4 separate regions of the Homo sapiens genome follow, and regions 2, 3 and 4 are each linked to region 1. The links are contacts of gene promoters, found by promoter capture Hi-C in human tissues and cell types (Jung and others, 2019). All regions are on one chromosome and are shown on one strand. The core of a region is centred on a gene start or on the middle of the fragment in contact, and the rest is flanking DNA. Distances in the headings are between cores, read along the strand shown. Region 1 holds the start of ZIC1 (Zic family zinc finger 1). Region 2 has its middle 160 kb from the start of LINC02010. Region 3 has its middle 51 kb from the start of PLSCR5. Region 4 has its middle 68 kb from the start of LINC02032.

The links. Contacts are between HindIII fragments. The study calls those that stand out against the background at their distance.
Region 2: a fragment that was not itself captured here is called in contact with the fragment with the promoter of ZIC1 in region 1 in 2 of the 25 tissues and cell types used here (IMR-90 fibroblasts and mesenchymal stem cells).
Region 3: a fragment that was not itself captured here is called in contact with the fragment with the promoter of ZIC1 in region 1 in 2 of the 25 tissues and cell types used here (pancreas and psoas muscle).
Region 4: a fragment that was not itself captured here is called in contact with the fragment with the promoter of ZIC1 in region 1 in 2 of the 25 tissues and cell types used here (dorsolateral prefrontal cortex and hippocampus).

Annotation. Positions count from the first base shown.
Region 1 is chr3:147,407,951-147,412,475 of GRCh38, reverse strand. It overlaps ZIC1 (Zic family zinc finger 1), which reads right to left and starts at 3,111. Exons shown (of 3, transcript NM_003412.4): 1 at 1,382-3,111. The coding sequence starts at 2,363. RefSeq lists enhancers at 1-298, 2,924-3,504, 3,927-4,525. The HindIII fragment of the contact is 11,475 bases long and covers 1-4,525 here.
Region 2 is chr3:146,763,985-146,768,966 of GRCh38, reverse strand. No RefSeq gene overlaps it. Among named protein-coding and RNA genes, the nearest start is that of LINC02010, 160 kb to the left of the region's middle. The HindIII fragment of the contact is 7,948 bases long and covers 1-4,982 here.
Region 3 is chr3:146,654,072-146,658,748 of GRCh38, reverse strand. No RefSeq gene overlaps it. Among named protein-coding and RNA genes, the nearest start is that of PLSCR5, 51 kb to the right of the region's middle. The HindIII fragment of the contact is 4,052 bases long and covers 1,303-4,677 here.
Region 4 is chr3:148,008,142-148,012,661 of GRCh38, reverse strand. No RefSeq gene overlaps it. Among named protein-coding and RNA genes, the nearest start is that of LINC02032, 68 kb to the left of the region's middle. The HindIII fragment of the contact is 3,711 bases long and covers 121-3,831 here.

The sequences.
Region 1 (4,525 bases), core at 1,862-4,361:
TACCGCGGCCGTTTTTCAAAAACTAAACAAATAGAAAAAAAATAAAACAAAAAGCCAGCAGCCCAGGATTAGCACTTTGCAAGCTTAAAAACCCGGAACGTCAATAAATTCTTACATCTGCAGTGGAATTATAAATATCTTAACTCTATTGTAATCCCTAATACAATTGGATCTACATTTTATTTTTATGTTTAAAAAAATTAATAGTAGGAGGAGTCGGTTTTTAGCATCAGATCTGGAAACTCGTATTACCCAGAGCTACACACGATTTCGGATTGCTTCCACCTGGCTCCTGGTTTCTAGTTTTCACGTTTGCGGCTTATTCTCCTGCCCTATTGCTTTTCTCTCCTCCCCCTGCCCCCTCCCCGACGCTCCGCATCCCCTGGTCGCCTCCTCCAACCCACCCCACTCCCTACATACACTCACATTTTATAGCGTAATCTGGGCCGGAGAGAACTCAACGCCGCAAATTCTTCCCTGACTCGGGCGTTAAACCCGAAGTCTCAAGCATGGTTCTCAGATCTCACCCGGGAAAATCAGAATAGGAAAGGAGACCCAGTTCCCGGCCTCTTGGGGGCAGGGGGCCCAGAATGTTTTGTCTGATGCCAGGCTACAACCCTGAGCTCGTGGGAACTTTTTTTTTTTTTAACTGTTCCGGACCTGTGTCTTGATTATTTTTAAAGGCCAAAGAGGGGAATCTGGTGTTTTGAAAACACCCTCATGGAGTCTAATAGACAACAAGTTCTTCCTTGCCTTCCTCGGACTTTCTCCACCCCTCAAACCCACTCTTAAAACCAGTCACTACTAAAACTGAACTCTTCAAATATGCATAAAGCTCCAAAAGCCTCCTCAATCCCAAATTATTTCCTTTCCCCACTCTGTCTCAATTCTTTCTGTCTCTGTTTTGTTTCTTTCTACGCCCTTAACCCGGCCTCCTCAATTTCCTCAGCTCTTTCCTTTGGCAAAGTCCTCAGTGAAGTGCACGGAGAGAGATGTTGGCAGCAAGCAAGGGTTTAGATTTGTCTGCAGCCTGAGCAGCTGGCGCCTCCGCGGCTGCCGGGAGCCAGCCACTTTCTCCGGCTTCGAAAGCACCAAGGTCTCCGCCAAACCAGGTTTGGCTTCCTGTTCTCCGACCTTTTTTGTTTCTCATTTAAAAAATCTATATACCCAGCTCCTCCTCGTCCGCCCTGTGTGTGTGTGTGTGTTTTCCATAATTTCAAGCCAGAAACTAAAAATCAGCGCACACTTTCCCTGCCTGCCTGCCGGAACCTGACGCCCGGGATCCCACCGAGGCTGCGTTTGTGCGACCTGGCCGCTGACTTTCGGTTTGGGTCCCAGGCCCAAGTGGGAATGGGTAGGGGTCCTACAGCTGTTTCCGTACCTGTGTGCGTCCTTTTGTGGATCTTTAAATTCTCGGAGCGCGCGAAGACCTTGCCACAGCCAGGGAAGGGGCAGGGAAAGGGCTTCTCGCCCGTGTGCACGCGGATGTGGTTAACCAGTTTGTATTTGGCTTTGAAGGGCTTGCCCTCGCGCGGACACTCCTCCCAGAAGCAGATGTGATTACTCTGCTCCGGGCCACCTACGTGCTCCACGGTGACGTGCGTAACTAGCTCGTGCATGGTGCTGAAAGTTTTGTTGCACGACTTTTTGGGGTTGGCCAGCTGCTCGGGCTCGATCCACTTGCAGATGAGCTCTTGCTTGATGGGTTGGCGCATGTAGCGGAAGAAGGCGCCGGCGCCGTGATGCGCGGCCATGTTCACGTTCATGGGCCCGTAGCCGTGCAGCTGCGGCGCAGCATAGTGCTCCGAACGCGGGCTGGTCACCTGGCCGTACTGCTCCGGTCGCGGGTACATGTCCCCCGAGAAGCCGAGCCTCATCTGCCCGTTGACCACGTTAGGCGACGCGTGGCCGGCAGCCTGCTCGTGAAGCCCGGGGAAGAGGAGGTGGCCCGCGGCGTCCGTGTGGCCGTGTGGGCCCCCGAAGCCCCCGGCCGATGCAGCAAAGAGGCTGTGCTGTGCGCTGGCTGCCGCCGCCGCGTCGCCAAAACCCCGGTTGCGGAACAGAAAGTCCCGCGTGGAGTTGAAGGCTGCGCTGGAATAGGAGCCGACGTGGCCCGGGTGATGGTGATGGCCCAGGGCCGCAGCAGCCGCGTAGCCTGGCGCCTGCGACGTGAAGGCCGTCTGGCCGGCCGAAGCCAGCTCGTGCGAACTGGGGTTGAGCTTGAAGGCGCCCATGCCGTCGGCGAACGGGTTGATGCCCAGGCCCACGTCTCGTTCGGCCACGTCGCCCGCGGAGTGGTGGCGGGACGCGCCAAAGGTGGTCACGCCGATCGCTGGGTACTGGGGGCCGGCGTCCAGGAGCATCGTGGCTGCTCGGGGCGAGCCCCGGCCTCCCCCGCCCCCCCCACCCTCGCCAGCCGAGGAGGGAAAATCGGGAGGAGGAGGAGGAACAAGAGGAGGAGGAAGAGGAGGAAGAAGAGGAGGAGGGAGGGGGAGTCGACCCACCTCGCGAAGTCCTAGCCTGCAGGCAATGGCGCGGCGCGCCCGGGCGCTGGCCGGGCCAAACGCAAAGTAGCCGGACGGCTGCGGGCCGCGAGTAACGCAGGCTCCAGCGCCCGCCAGGCAGATTCTGCCGGCCCGGCTCGCACTTTCTCGCCGCTCAGTCTCTGCCGAGAGGGCCGCGCGTCAAGGCTGCCCGGGGAAAGGCATGGAGCATCTCAGCCCCCTAAAAAAAAACTTCCTCCTGGATTTGTAGCATAGAGGAATGTGAGCGCCAGTGCCGCGACTGCTTCGCCCTCTCTCCGCCTCGCGCAGCGCGCCCCTCCTTACTTCTCCACTAGCCCCTCGCCCTTTCTTTTCTCTCTCTCTCCTTTCTCTCACGCTCGCCTCCTCGCTCCTTCACTCTCCGTTTTTCCCTCTCTGCTTTTTGAAAAAAAAAAAAAAAAAAGTGGGTGGGGGGGTGAAGAAAGAAAGAAAAAGCCAAAGAAAAGGCGCAAATCATGCACAATATTGTCTTTTGCGGTTTATCTTCCTGGGGAGAAACTTTCACCTCCTCAGCCGGGCGGTGAGCGCGAGACTGATAGCAGCAATCATTCCTGCAGATAAATGAATTGAAAGGACGACACCGTCCCCCCCTTGATGAATGGGAGCAGGGGGGAGGTGTCACGTGCTGCCGACGCTGGCGCCCATTGGTGCGCCCGCATTCCCCCCGCCCTCAGCCGCCGCGCCAACGGAGGGCGCGCCGAGGCGCCGCGCGCAGCTCATTGGCCCGCCCGCCTCATCAATCCCAGGTATTGTAAAGCGCTTGACATCCCCTTTTGACAAACCAGGGCTGCCAGGAGTAGCAACTTTTTTTTTAGCCAAATTTTTTCCCTCTTCTCACGGAAATTTTTTTTCTTTTTTCTTTTCTTTCTTTCTTTTTTTTTTTTTTTTTTTTTTTTTGCCACGATTACTTTTCCTTCTCACAGTCATATGCATTCCTCTTCCTCCTTTGCCCTCCCGCACCCCGGCGCTGCCCTTCCCGAAACCAACTTTTCGCTGAGCGATTAGAGACTTCAGACGTCTCCGGGTGCAGCAGGCGGGGATGGGGCTAGTAAACACAGCAAAGGCACTTCCAGAATGTCCCGATTCAGCAACTTTCTTTTCTTTCTTCCCCCTTCCCCCCTCCCTTCAAGAGCAGCAAAAGAGGCTTTTGTTATTTGCTCCTTTTGAAGTTTGTTTCCCTCTTGCTTTGTCCCCCTCCTGTTTATAATTTAAGATCTTGGGAGCACACGGGCACTATGCTCTCTTTACAAAAAAATGTAATTTCTCAGTGTAACCGGCAGCCTCTGTATTTCTCGCTTTTATCTAATCAGACTTCCGGCACCACCGCACCCCCCTCCCCGAAAACACACACACACACACACTCACACACACAGGTGGATGAAAGCGCTTAAGTTCCCAGGTTATTGAGGTTTGAATTTTTTAATGGCAAATTTGAAACGTTGTTGCCAGTTTCCTTTACTTTTTCTCTCTCTTGCGTTATTTTTCTGTTTTCTGCCTTTCCGTTGTCTCCTTCGACTGCCCCCGCTAACCCTGTCTCTCCTCACTCCTGTTCCCTACTTGGGCCCCTTTCATTCAGGTAAAACTGTAAATTTCCCAACGCGCTATTGTTCCCTTGGGCTGCCCAAAGCTCCCTAGAGATCCCCGAATACTTTTTCGGTATTTAAATCCCCAATAGATAGGACCAATGTAAATTTTGTGACATTCAAACCTTTTCTAGTTCACAAATCAGTCACCCTTGTCACAGTTATTGAAATTCCGCAACTCGCCACACCAGGACGGTGGAAAAAGCGGGCGCGGTCTTTGTTGCCGACCAGGCTTTTGATCGCCAGAGAAAATTTACTTACCTTCAGATGAGTGAGCAGAAAAAGAAATAACACTCCCTTTGATTTAGTTAGGAAAATGCAGACATTTGGATTCAGTGCAAACATACAACACTCGCTTGTTTTCGCGATGCGGCCCTCGATTAACCTGTCTTTGCCTAG
Region 2 (4,982 bases), core at 2,223-4,722, 640 kb after region 1:
AAATGAATGTTTCAATTGCTGTGAGTTATTTTAATAATTGCTCAGCTAACCATTTAAATTATCAAAGATCTTTACTTGTGCAATGTCATATAAATGCTGGAAATTAAAAATTAATCAACACAATTTATGTAACTAAAAGCTGCCATCTAATGGGATATTTTTCAGTAAGACGACAGCAGTAATTATGCTGAAAAATATTCATTCCTGTAGTTTGAACGATTATAGCAATTTCCACCAGGGGATTTCGCAGTTAGATTCTAGTTCTGGGCAACAGTGATTAATATAATGGTTATTAATGAGAAGTCATTTTGATACTTCTAGCAGTGTTTAGGTGTCAATGCCTTGAAAGAAACATGTTTAGCATATTAATAATAAAGACTGTGTTGGACTGGATACTAAGAAACCTATTGGTTTGCTTTTCTTGTCTTGCATAACATGAAAGGTCAATTAGACATATAGAAACAATGGAACATTTCGCAGCAGGGCCTAACATTTCACTGCACTTTTAACCTTTTAGCCATGTATAAAGTTCATTAAATACCCGAAGATAGGACTGTTACAGGAAGACAGTGGTGGGGTCAGAGGTCACAGTGAAAAGCAAGACGACAATCTCTCCTGGATGGCATCCTGACAGCTAAGTTAGAGGGAGAATTACCTTTCTGGTTGCCAACAGGGAACAAGGAGAATGAAGCTATCAGCAATTAACATTATTGGATTAATTAAAATGAATGTTGACAGAGATTTTATTGGCTTTACATCAAATTGAATATAGGTAAGATAATCCCTTATCAAATTTCATAAATGTAAAAGCGTAGATTAAATGATTACACAATCCATATATTTTGGGTAACACATATAAATATATATACACATGTGCACACTTGCAGTGTGCAAATATGTGTGTCCATCTAAATGTACCCAAATCCACTGACCCAGAGTTAAAAAGTTAGAAATTATTCTCCCACTTTACCATTCCCTTTTCTAGAATTTTGTCACAAATATAATTTTTTCATTTATTTGAAGCCTACTGTTTGGAGCCATGTAATGTATCGATACAGTATATGGATACTGTGTGATATCACAGGGTTTGTGTCAGAGAAAAGAATAACACTGTTGTTATAAAAGATCTACATTGTGAGGAGAAAGTTTAACTTCACATTACTATGGGTACAGAAGTATGATTACATCAAAAGCTCAAATCAGCACCTAGAATTTATTTTGAATGTTTTATTTGAAATACTTATGTCAAAAAGATTATTGTAATAGAATAATAAAATTGAAAAAATAACGTTTAAATGTTTCCTTTAATTTGTTGATGATGTAAAATGTAAGTAGAATGCTAAAAATTAGTGTATAATATAATTTCATGAAGAATTCTTTATAGTTTTCATAAAATTAATAGTCTCAATTGAATTTTTTTAGACTGAGACAATTCTATACATCATTTTATTGTGCTTTTATTTTACTACTTGCTTATATGTCATAATGGATAGAAATAAAAATATTTTTATTTAAGCATATACAAAACTTGGATTCTTGTTTATGTTTTCTAGTGCGATGAAGGCAGCAATAATGTTAACTATGTTGGAAAATTTTGATTAGCCTAAAGTTCTTAACTTTCTTTTCTTTTTGAAGTTTGATATTTCAGTCTAGGTCTGAGATGGAGTTGAGTGTGATCATTCTTTGATTTCACTATGAGTGCTGAGTTCCTAATGCGGTGTTAGGAATGTGTAGACTTTAAAGCTTGTTTTCTTTTTCATCATCTCCCTTTGGACTTGCATATATGATTTCTACAGTAATATGCATCATTTTCTGACATAAGGTTGCTGAAAAATACAAGCATAAATACAATTCTTTACTTCTGTGATTCTTTAGGAACAGAGAAATAAAACTAAAAAATAATTATGGTATGAATGTAAGTCAGCAGTTTATCATACAGGTACAATAACAGTGTGGAAATACATTAAAAAATACATGCCTCATCTAAAACATGAGGTAGTAAAAATGAAAAATTTAATTTAACATAAATAACAGTTTAAAGGTTATGATTATTTCTGGTGAGAGCAAGTAGCACTAAAAATCCTATTTTCCCTATTTTATTATATGAAAATATAACTGTATTTTCAGGCTTAAAAAAAAGTTAACTCTAACCTAAGCAGCAGTTGTACAGCCATTTCAAATGGTGGTGCAGCATTTTTTAATTTCTCGGAAAATCTTTTGGGAGCAATATAATATAGTTCTATGAAAAATTAATCAATGAAATTATTATGACTGTAATCTCATAATTTCATTGTCCTTCTCCTTTCAGTTTTTACTTATTCTCTTTAAAATTCAAATGCCCCTAAAAAGCATATCATACATAATAATGACTGAAAATAGTTGCAAAATAAAAATTGAGTAGGAGAGACATTTCAAGGTTTCTTTTATGAGAATGCTACGTTAACCATGTGACATACACATGCTAAAAACAATTGTGGAAAAAAATGACTAATATTTGTGTAGCACTTGACAGTTTACACAATAATATCAAATATTCTCATTTGACCTTCAAAAGGATTTTTAAACTCGTGTTTCACAAATGAGGAAAATGAGATTCAGTAATACAAATCAGAGCTGTTACATCTCCTTATGATCATGTCACCCAATAAAGCAGAGGCATTTGTTTTCTTGAGAAGAGATGAAGAAGGCAAAATTTATTAAAATTATGAGTCTTTTTTGTAGTTTCAATTGTTTATTAATGTTTTGTTTGTCAAAATTGTTGCCCTTATTTTCAGTATACTTTCTGTATTTGCCTATTACAGCAGTTATCACATTTATTATTTCTCATTTATCTCTGTGCCTGCTAGAACTGCACACTCAGAAGAGAAAGGACTACGCTTCTCTGAGCTTCTTGCAGAGTGACAGGCTTATTTTGACATTTAGAAACTATCTGTTGACTGTTTGTGACATTTTCATTTAAGTTACATTTTAGGTCACTTGATACTAATTTTCTATTTAGTATTAGGTTTTGGAGAGCTATTTTTCTTATTACAGTGTTTTGAAGTATATTTAAGGATATACTTATCCTGAAGTGAAGAAGAAAACCAGTGAGGCACTTTTCAATGTTACATCATTTTAGTTATGATTGCTCCTTTTTCACGTTACTTGCATTTTCCGTAAGATCACCTTGCTGTTTTTAAAACAGATAAATATCTATTGTAATTTAGGAAATATACTGCTTTAGTTTCAGAAAGTGGGTAATAGTGTCATTGATGTGGGTAATAATATCATAATGAATCATATCTAATTTTGGAAATACCCCACAAATCACTTCAATATCTGCATATTTTAAAATAATATGCATTATACTCTTTGTTCACTTTCCTTTCTGTATTACTGTTTCTTTCCTTCTTTCTCTTATTTTTTTCTTTCAGTAAATACTGAGCCTCTACAATGTACTCATTCTTCTAGAAATCTAAAATCTGGCCAAGAGTAAGCGTTGTCCTCATGAGCTTACATTCTAATGCAAATATCCAGTAAGAACACACTTTTATGGAAGTGTTGTAAATACACAAATCTAAAAACAAAGAGCCAAGAATTCCAAACAGCTGTTTTTCTTGATAAGACTCTAGAATTAATAATATGTATAATTGTAACTGAACTCATCTGTGATAGTGTCCATTTAATTCATCAATTGCCACAGAAGACCAATTGTTCAAGCAAAATAAATAAAAGTTCCTTATATTGTTCTCCAATTGAAAATATATATGACATTAATATGTATTTATTTGAGGTTTTCTTTTAAATTTTTGTACACCTAACACTTTAGCACGTGCAAATTTCATAAGAAAAACCCACCTGTAAAATGCTGGTTATTGGAATAATTCTCAACACAATATTGCCAATGTCAAAGTTGAGTGTGTATTATAACAGTAAGTAGATGATGAATCAGAAAGATTCTGACTGGGGATTTCAAAACATTCTATATGGTAACATGGCGATTACATACAGATTCATGGATCTATTTCTATCTTCTTTAAATCCATATTTCAATTAATTGTCCCAATGCCCTCAGAGAAGGGAAAGTTATGTACAAATAACCCCAGTCTAAAAAAGGCTGTGACCTGAATGATAGTGGAAAGTGCACAAGATTCCAATGGAGTGAACATGGCAGTTGTTTCTCCTTTATATGTTATAAAGAGAACTAGGGGTCAAATTGCATAAATGATAAATGGAAGGTGCTTGAATTGGGTTGGTTCTTTTATGAACATTATACATTGACCCTGGCAGCTTTGACAATTACATCCATCATTTCTAGGAATCTGTTCCAACACTCAGCCTGCTCTCTAATGTGACCAAATAACCAGTTTGTGAATATAGGAATCAAAGATTGATCTTCTGTGCCACTGCACTGATTAAGTTTGTTACTTACTGGAGCTTTTCCATTACATGGAATTAGGTAAGGATCATAATTCATTATGGCACACCTATAGATAGATGTTAGAATGCTTTAATCTTCACTTACTAGGCTTCAAAAGGATTAATATTAGACTTGTAACTTTGATAAGCAAAATGAAACAAAACTTTTAAGAAACCCATTGCGTACTTTTAATGTTGTTTTATTACTTCCATGTTTCTTGAATAGAAAGAGCTGGTTGAAGATGGAAATAGACCAGACCATTTTAATTTTTACACTATTGTGACCTGACAATAACTTAGGCACCAAATTTCAGGTTTAAAAGAATTTTTCTGTCCCAAATATCTTTTGTGTGAATAGAAATATATGTAGATTGAGGAGCAGGTCTTCTAATCACCAAAATCATTACATGCAACATTGTTTGCTGTCATAATATTCTTCCCAGAAAGTCTATCAACTGCATGAAAGTACCTCAAAGGCTGGAGAGATAGTCAGAATGTATTTGAAGTCCTGAAAAGCAACTTAAGATTTTTGACTTTAGGTGATGTTGTATATTAAATGGCAGAGGGTCTAGTCTCAGAATTCA
Region 3 (4,677 bases), core at 2,079-4,578, 750 kb after region 1:
TCATAACCCCTGTCTCAGCAGGTGGAATGTGATCTCTTTCCCTGTCATGCCCTGTGTGGCACTCAGGTTATTCAGTTTATTCACAACTGCTATTTATTTTCAGACTACAATGTAGCCAAGAGCTGTAGCAGCCAGCCAGCTGGGCAGCTCAACAACAAGCTTCCATGCTATCTCTTTGTGTCTGCAGTGGGGGATCCTCCTCCGCAGCCCCCGCAAAACACATAGCTCTGTGGCATTCTACTGCCGAAACACTGCAGCTCTATGCAGAGAGGGGTGGGGGGCAGGGATAGCGGGGTGGCAGGCTTGCTTTTCACACAAACTCCATGGGAGGCTACACTGACAGTGGGAAGACAGTTGTCCCTCACAGCCTCAGACAGGCTGTACTGTGGCTCACCTGTGCCAGTTTCCCATGCGAGCAGTAACTGGCTGTGTCTGCATCAGTGGGTGGAGTGGGAAGAAAAGTCCCTGTCTCTATGCTTGGGATCTAGCACAGAGGTCCTTTGGTCAATAAGATATAATTTCACGCCTCTCTTGCAGAGCTAAGCGCAGATATTGTGCCCCTGCTGGAAGCTAATCTGTCCCCTCACAACCCCAAGCAGGGAGCTCTAATGCACTGGAAAGTGTGCCCTTTGGCGTCTTTTGTTCCATGGGCTACCTTCTTGGTGCTCTGCACTTTCCCTTCCAGTAGGAGTAGCAGTCCCAGAAGGCTACAATACTGGGAACCCTGCAGCTTCCTTGGCTCCAACCAGCACTGTGCCAATGCTTGCCTCAGAACAGACAGTAAGAAATGTTCGTGAGATCTTTTTGGATATGGAGACACAATATCTGAGGTTCCCTGGGTAGGACATAGTCTCTCAATTCTCATGCCCCCAAAATGATGCCCTGCTGCAGCTGCTCGAGTCTGAAAGGAGGGTGAGCAACCTGGCAAGGGTCCACAGTCAGGTGTAATACCCTCAAGAAATCCCCAAGTCACCACTCACACTAGAGTCCAGGAATGCAAGGGCAGAGAGGCTCCCCCACAGTTTGGGTACCAGCAGTCTGCAGTAGAGATGAGGGCAACCAAAATACTCCCACTTACCCTTTCCGTGCAATACCAACTCCCTTGAGGCTCCTAGGTGATCTTTGCCAGTAGAGTTGCTCTCTTGCCTCCTCTTTTATTCTGTGCTGCAGTTTTTTCCCATGATTTCTCTGTGGAGTTCTAGTATTTTCTCTTTAATATTCTATTTGAGTTAATAATTATCTGTCATTTTGACTACTTTTGAGGAGAACTAGCATCCTTGTCTTTAGCCAGCCATCTTGAACCAAGTACAAACTGCACTCTTTTTATTAAAGAGTCTCCTTTCCAAAATTTTATATGCTTCGTGTCTCTCCCTAAAAATCTGGTCCTTCAACGATGCTAACAATAAATGTACATGCTTCTGAAGAGAATTAGAATAAAATAATTTTTTCTGATCTCCATTATTCTTCACACTTTACCAACTAACTTCTCCTTATCATTCATATATTAGCTTACTATTATTCCCTTAGGAAAGTTTTCCAAATCTCACCTCCACCCAAAAGCATGTGTGAGGTTCAGTGTTCTCTAAGCACCCTGCACTTCCGCTTGCTGACGTTTATCAAAATTATAGTTAAATAATTATTTCTATAATTTGTTTCTTTCATGTATATATCCTTTGCTAGAGTATAAACTCTGCAAGAAAGTTCTACATCCATCATGTTTATCATGTTTCCTAAACCTATAAATTGATTAATGTCAATGAGTTAATGAATTGATTACTAATGTATTAGTAATCAATGAATTAATATCTGGCATCCAGGAAGTACAGATAAATAACCTATTTTTATTAATATATAACTACTTAACTAATATACAAGTAAAATTATAGTTAATAGTATTAAAATTACAACTAAAATGTATTGTTAAGCTGATAGGCTTATTTTCTTTTATATTCGACAAAATCTTAGACGCCTCATATGAAAGTCTATGCATAAGGATGAAAAATGTAGATTGTTGTTATTTTTATTTTTAATGGTAGATATACATAACATAATATTTATCATCTTAACTTTTTTCAGTTATTTTTAAATGTACAACTAAACATTGACTATAGTCATTTGGTTGTGTGATCAAATAGTATCACAATGGTATGTGTTATTCATTCTTTCTATTTTTTTTTTATACCCATTAACCATCCCCATATTTCCTCTGCCATCCCCTCAACTTGCCTTCCCAGGAAAAATTTAAACATATGCAATTATCACCATAGAATTCTCTTGTGGATTTTATTTTCATTAATGACTGTGAACTTTTTATTTCTACAAATTACCACATAATTCTTATACACAAAAGGGCCAAAACGCAGTAAATAGGTAATCAACTCAATTTTCAGTGTGTTGCTATTGAGAATAGCAATGAGGTAAAAGAATTCCTCTTTGGACTTAAGCTTTGGAGTTAGAATTGTGTTCAAGTTTATGCTTAAACACCTACTGGTTGTTTAGGAAAAGTCGCTTAGTTTTTCTAACTTCTACTTTTCTCATGAAATATTGAGAGTATTTACCACACACATTGTTGTGATAAATATCAACTAAGTAAATGAACAAAATTTTACCACAATATTTAGCATAAACTGACATTTATGGTTACCTATTTTTATTTTAAAAACTACTTATAAATCAATGCTAACTAAAATTTCCAGACTAAGCTATTTTGCAGTAATGAATAAATAATGTCTTTGTTTTATTGTAAAGGAAAAATCATATTTACAAATTTAACTAAATATTTTAAGTACATTTTGGTTTAGGTTTATACAAAGACCTATTTTACATAACCCTGGTGGTACAAAAGAAGATAAATTTTTAAAGAAAACACAACTCGGTTAGTTGCAGCTCTAACATGGAAAGAAAAACAAATAAAAAAATATGAATCAGGAATACATGCAATAGTACTTAACAGGAACATGTTGTAACTACTTTAATAATCTTTTTGAAATAGTAACAGCAAAATATCAGCTTTATGTGCTCAACATCAAGGACAAACACATCTTCTACGATTTGAAAACATTGTACTGTGCATACTGGAATGAAAATGCTGCTGAACATATTCCAATAGTCTTATGGACAATGTGGAATGTTGTATCCTGAGAAAGTAGAAAACTTCTCATGAGAATGTTTGAAATGTCACTCCGGTTCATTTTAGATCAGAGTGCAGGTGGCTCTACAAAGCATTTGCTGGAGGCTTTGTGTTTATACAGTTGTTGCTTCCAGGATGGTATTGATTGGTTAGGCAACTAATAAAACAAGCAGTGCTGCTTTCATCTGTGTGCATTTTGGGGCTTCTAAAAGATAGAAAAGTGTTTTTAATTAGGACATGTTCCCTTCACTTATTTTACTTTTTGCTTCTTTCCTTTTTTTTTTTTTTCTTACAGTATCTTCTCGCATTTCGGAATCTCTCTCCCTGGTCATGATTCCAAACCCCTAGATGCTTTAGAAGGCAAATGATCCTGAGGGAGATATTCCTACTCAAATCTCAAGACAGACAAAAACCCTTAACATCAGCAAAACCAACATGCTCTTTATTGTTTCCATTTCATACATTTTGATTGAAAGTTATGTATTTTACTTATATTTTGAGGCTATCTGGATCAAAGTTTCTCACTTAAACATAAACTAAATTTACAGCGGAATCTATGAAAAATACTCTTATGTTCTACTATTTATATGACAGCTCCTGAATACATGAAAACACATTGTATACTAAATCACTGCATATCTAGGCAGTCATTTTATATATATACACAAATATATATTTTATATAAATAAAAATTATACATAATTCAGAATTACTTAAATATATACATTTGTATTTTTGCTTTTTTCTTTTTTTAGGTTCTTTCATTAATTTATATTTTCATAATTTTCTTATACTATTCTAATGTTGTTTTTTATCTCCATTTTCTATCTTCTTTCAAACTGTCCAAAATATATATCTTTGATTTTATAAAGGATATACAAGGAAGATTAAACACAATGTTTAAAAATTTAGAGACTATAAATAGAACTTATCAGGTAATTGTGGAAAATGTGCTATGGGGGGAAAAGTGACTTCAAGGAAACTTTTGAAAATGGAAAAACATAGCAAGGATTAAAATTTGACCACATAAATTAGCATATAAACTGGGAATTAAAGCGTTTCTAAGGAGGAACATAAAATGTGAAAGTGCTAGTATCAATTAAATAATGGTAATCAAATAGCTAAGAAAATGATTTTCATTGATATCGTACCTTTTAGCTCAAATAAGACAATTCTTTCATTTATTATTCATTTAACGTGCTTAAATAATCTAAAGAAAAAGGCAAGAAGAATTCATTTTGATAGACCTTATGCTGTATTTTTGAAATATAAAAGCTGAGTACTTAAAACAGTTTCTTAAAATGTAATTTAATTAATTTGAATGAACACACATGTAAAAGAAATTATACATAATCAAAATCCTGGAGAAGAAAGGCAGTATAGTATACCATAGTGCTTCTCACCAGGTGGTCCCTGAACCAGTGGCATCAGCAACACTCGGAAACTGGTTAGAAATGCAAATTCTCAGGCACCACCCCCGACCTAGTGCATCAGAAACTCTGGGTTTGAGACACACCAATTTGTATTTTAACAAGCTCTCCAGGTGA
Region 4 (4,520 bases), core at 727-3,226, 600 kb before region 1:
TTAGAGGATAGTTAAAAATGTTAATGAAGCTTAGATATTATAATTAGATGTACATTATCACTGAGAAGGCGACTTAGAGTCTCTCTGGTGTTAGATATAAAAACTGGTGATTTTTGTCAGCTCTCTGGTGATTTGGCCAAAATGGTCTTGCTCTTTCAGATTCCATTCCTTTGCCAGAGGTAGACAAAATTATTATAAATATGCACAAAGCTTATAAAAATGCAAAGGAGAAAAACCACTCAAACACTTAAAAAAGGACATAAACAAGAAACCAAGGCAGCTGGTAAAGCAAAATGGAAATTTTGCTGATGCAGATCCTCGGTTTTCTTTCAATTATAGTTCATTTTGCAGCCTTAAGTCTGTGGTTGTTAAATGCTTTCCTGCTGCCAATCTGAAATGGAGGTGGACAATCCAGTAAACTAATTCCCAAATTACTCCAAATGTGAATCAAATTAGAATAAAACATTTTTGGAAACTGAAAGAGGAAAAGTGAAGGGTTATACTGAAATATATAGTTTTCATTTTTATGGAACTCTATTTTTCTAATTCCTACTGGGGGTAGATGTGTTGAAATTCTAAAAGAAAGTGTGTTCTTATGACACATTGTTGACATAATTTTCCAAGCCAAAATGCAACTTTGGAAGATGTCAAAATCATACAGCCTCTTAAAAAACTCCCAGTCTCCATCTTTTATGACAACATGCAACTGGTTTTAAGTATTACTTACTGTTGGTTATAATGTTACAAACTTTGAGAAGTTAAATATTTAGAATTTAAGTTCACTAAAGTGCAATAACCATACCCTTTCAAAAGAAAAGTAGGAAAAGCAGATAAATCTATGTTCATTTATTCCTGTGTGGTTTTTATATTTAATTTTTTGCCTCCCTTAATCCATTGTTATAAGCAGTAAAATGAGACAAAACAAAAAATAGTGCATCTAAAATATAAAGACTTCAAAAGACATTCTAGGAAATAAATTTTACAGTTGGAAGGAGGCTTACTGATTAGTAAGTCAAATTTATTTATTTTATCAGTGAGACAACTGAAGTACCAAAAGGTAAATACTTAGTCAAGTTCAGCTAAATTGTCAATGACATAGTCAGGGTAAGAAGTGGATTTTAGATTTCCCAGACCAGGGAGATTCTTGGTAACCTTAATCAATATTATTAATTTTTATTGTATGTCCTATACAGTCTAGAACATTTCAAGTTAGTAGTTTATTCTATTGTCCTCTTTTTGTTTATTGATTATTTTAATGGTGATAAAAATTCCATCAATGAAGCTGATTTTCAACATTTATGATATTTAAAAACATACTTTTAAGTTAAGGCAAGTTGATTCTTTTTCAATTTATCTTACTATTTTTCCTAAAATGCATTTATTTATTGACCTTTCATGGGATTTGATAATGACACAACTTATTATTTATTGTCTGTGTTCTGCCTACTTCCAAAAAAAATCATAAGAAAATTGATGGCCTTAAAAACACATATCATGGAATGTAAAACCAGTAAGTTCCAAGAAACAACAGAAAGTCCAAGTACTAAAGATAAATATAAAAATAATTATACCAGAAGAAAATGCTTTATTTAAAGTTATTTGAGCAAAATATTAATTTGAGCTTCCTGAGAGCCAAGAAGAAACAAGAAATGTGATGGTTCATAGAGCTCTCATTTGACAAAAAGAGAGTATGTCTCATTTTATTTTGTCTTAGGAAAGTCAAATCTAAAACATACAAGTTTTACCAAAGTTTTTGTGATTTTACTTTTTCCTCTTATCTGTTTCTTTTTTTTTAGCATGACCCTCATAAAAATAATTAATCACATAAATATAAGAAAACGAATAACATAAGGCATGCCATCCTTTTATAGTCATTTTTGTTCATTTATATTTTAATATTTAATGTAGATATTTTGTTCATATTTTCTACATAGCTCCTAGATAAAAGTAATGGCATAATTTTAAATTTTCCTAAATTGTTGTATATCATTCTATAAAGGCAATTTTGTGGGGAGCCATGATACTAAGATGTAGGTTTGTAGCTTTCTGCTGCCATACAATAATGATTAAAGTGCATATAGCAAGGAATAATTATATTTTATAAAAAGGAATACAAAAGCATAAGTAAGTAAAATTCACTTAAAGTTTTCTCGTGAAGAAAAGACATTTTTCTGTCTAAGCGTATTATACAAACTTTTTGATTTTTAAAAGTAGAAAGAATCTTTTTCATTAAGAGCTGAATACTTGCAACTTTTTGTGTGTTAGCACATTTGTCAATTATAAATTGGAGAAACTAATTTTTACAATGTTTGTACAACTCAAAATGTTCACATAATTTTTTTCAAAAGTTTAAAAGCAATTATCATAATATAACAAAACAAAGGATTTTAAAGATAATATTTTAAATTGTTAAGCCAAAAAAAAGTTTATGCTTCCAGTATCTGTATTCTCCAGAAGCTACCAAGGTAACAATAAAGCTTCTTCCACTATCCTAAAACTTCATGTAAGTCTCTCACATGCTTTTGGAGGGTCAGCTCTTTATTTGGAGCAGAGCTAAAAGTTTTCATTCACACTACTTCTGCTAAGCATTGTCTGTTTTCTCTCCTTCCCTTTATTACCCAACTCCTGAAATGCAATCTCTTCACCACCTCAGCACTACCAGAACTACTCACCAGAGCATTTTTATACAAAGGTCTTTCCAGAATCCCAATCTTACACTTTGTTGAGTTCCTGAATTCCAAAGCAGTCTACCATAACTTTCTTGATATTTCACTTTCGTAACTATCTTCTCTCTCTTCTTGTTTTTCTTTTCTTAGACTGCTGCCTTCCCATTACGGAAGTTCACGTTTTTGTTCTTGATAACTACAATTTTAGCTTAGCAGTTTTATTAAATCATCCATTTTAATAGATTTTGCTTCTTTTTCTGATTATTTCTAAATGTAGAACACCATTTGTGACCCACTGGCTTTGTCTCTGTGCCTGTTCTCAGCAGCTTACAAAACAAGTCTATGTAAAGGAAGCTCATACTCAATGTATCCCTCAGATACTACTTTCCTTCCAAAAATGCTACTTTCCTTCCAAAACATACACTTGTTTCAGACAGCTTCATTTCAGCCAAAGGTACTGGCATTATCAATCTCTTAAAAATAGAAAGATCAACTCATTTTTTAAAATCTCTCATTTAAAACTAAATTTAATATTGACATCTATCCAAATATATCAGAAATAAGGAAATTCACACAATCTAATTTAAACCAAATCACCACAGTTGAGCACAGAACTTCCCAAATGTAATAAAGACTAGTTTACTAACTTCCAAGTTACTCCTTTATTTCATTTTATAGGAGTTATACTCATATTCCCATATAGGTTATTCAGAATTTTCTCTCTCCATACAATTTCAAAGTCTTCATTTTACCCTATTTTTCAGTGAATGATCTCAGATACCCCTATAGGAAGAAGATTAAAACATGGAACCATAAAAGAAACAATGACCTTGATTGTCTCAGGCACCCATCATGATTTATTGGTCAAAGACTGAATTTTGGTATCAGACTAAATTATATTTAAGTATTACCAGTTATGGAAGCTTAAACTTTCTTACTCCCAAGACGAGTGCATTTTCTGTTGTATTTCCCTTACTTGCAATATTGTATGTTTTTCCATATCTATTAGGAAATTTCTTTCCATATGTAATAAACTACCCAGCTAGGGAGTCTTAAACAAATAAGGGTTTGTTTTTGTTGTATAATAAGTCTGGAGAAGAGCAGTTACTGGCGCTGGTTGAGTGACATAGTGAAGTGACCCCCAGGCTTCAGATGTTCTCCTGGCAGTCTCCAGTTATCACATCTGCATTCCAACAAGAAGAAGCAAAAACAGTGGGTGGGGGTGCTGTCTCAGGAAAGCAACAGGCTTCCCAGGAATCACACAGCTGACTTTCACTTCCATGTCATCATTCAGAACTCTTCTGTGAAGTTTCTCCAACTGAAAGTTGTCTGGGAATGAAGATTAAGTCAACCAAACATACCCATATTGTTCTTTCTGTATATCTGAATATTACTGATTGTTCAAAGCTTACCTAAAATCTCACCTCCTCTATGAAAACTTCTTCAATGCAGCTGACCACACATATCTCTAATCTTTGTAGATTTTCATTTTAACTACAAAAGTCCCATACAATATACCACTAATATTTTTGTGCTCTAATAATTTTTTTATTATTTAAAAAATTTTTGGAGATAGTGTCATTCTGTTGCCCAGGTTGGAGTGCAATGGCATGATCTTGGCTCATTACAACCTCTCCCTCCCCAGTTCAAGTGATTCTCCTGCCTCAGCCTCTCGAGTATCTGGGACTACAGGTATGTGATGCCACGCTCGCCTAGTTTTTTTTGTTTTGTTTTGTTTTTGTTTGTTTTTTTTGTATTTTCAGTAGAGACGGGGTTTCAACATACTGGCCAAGCTGGTCTCCAACTCCTGACCTCAAATGATCTGCCCACCTCGGCCTCCCAAAGTGCTGAGAT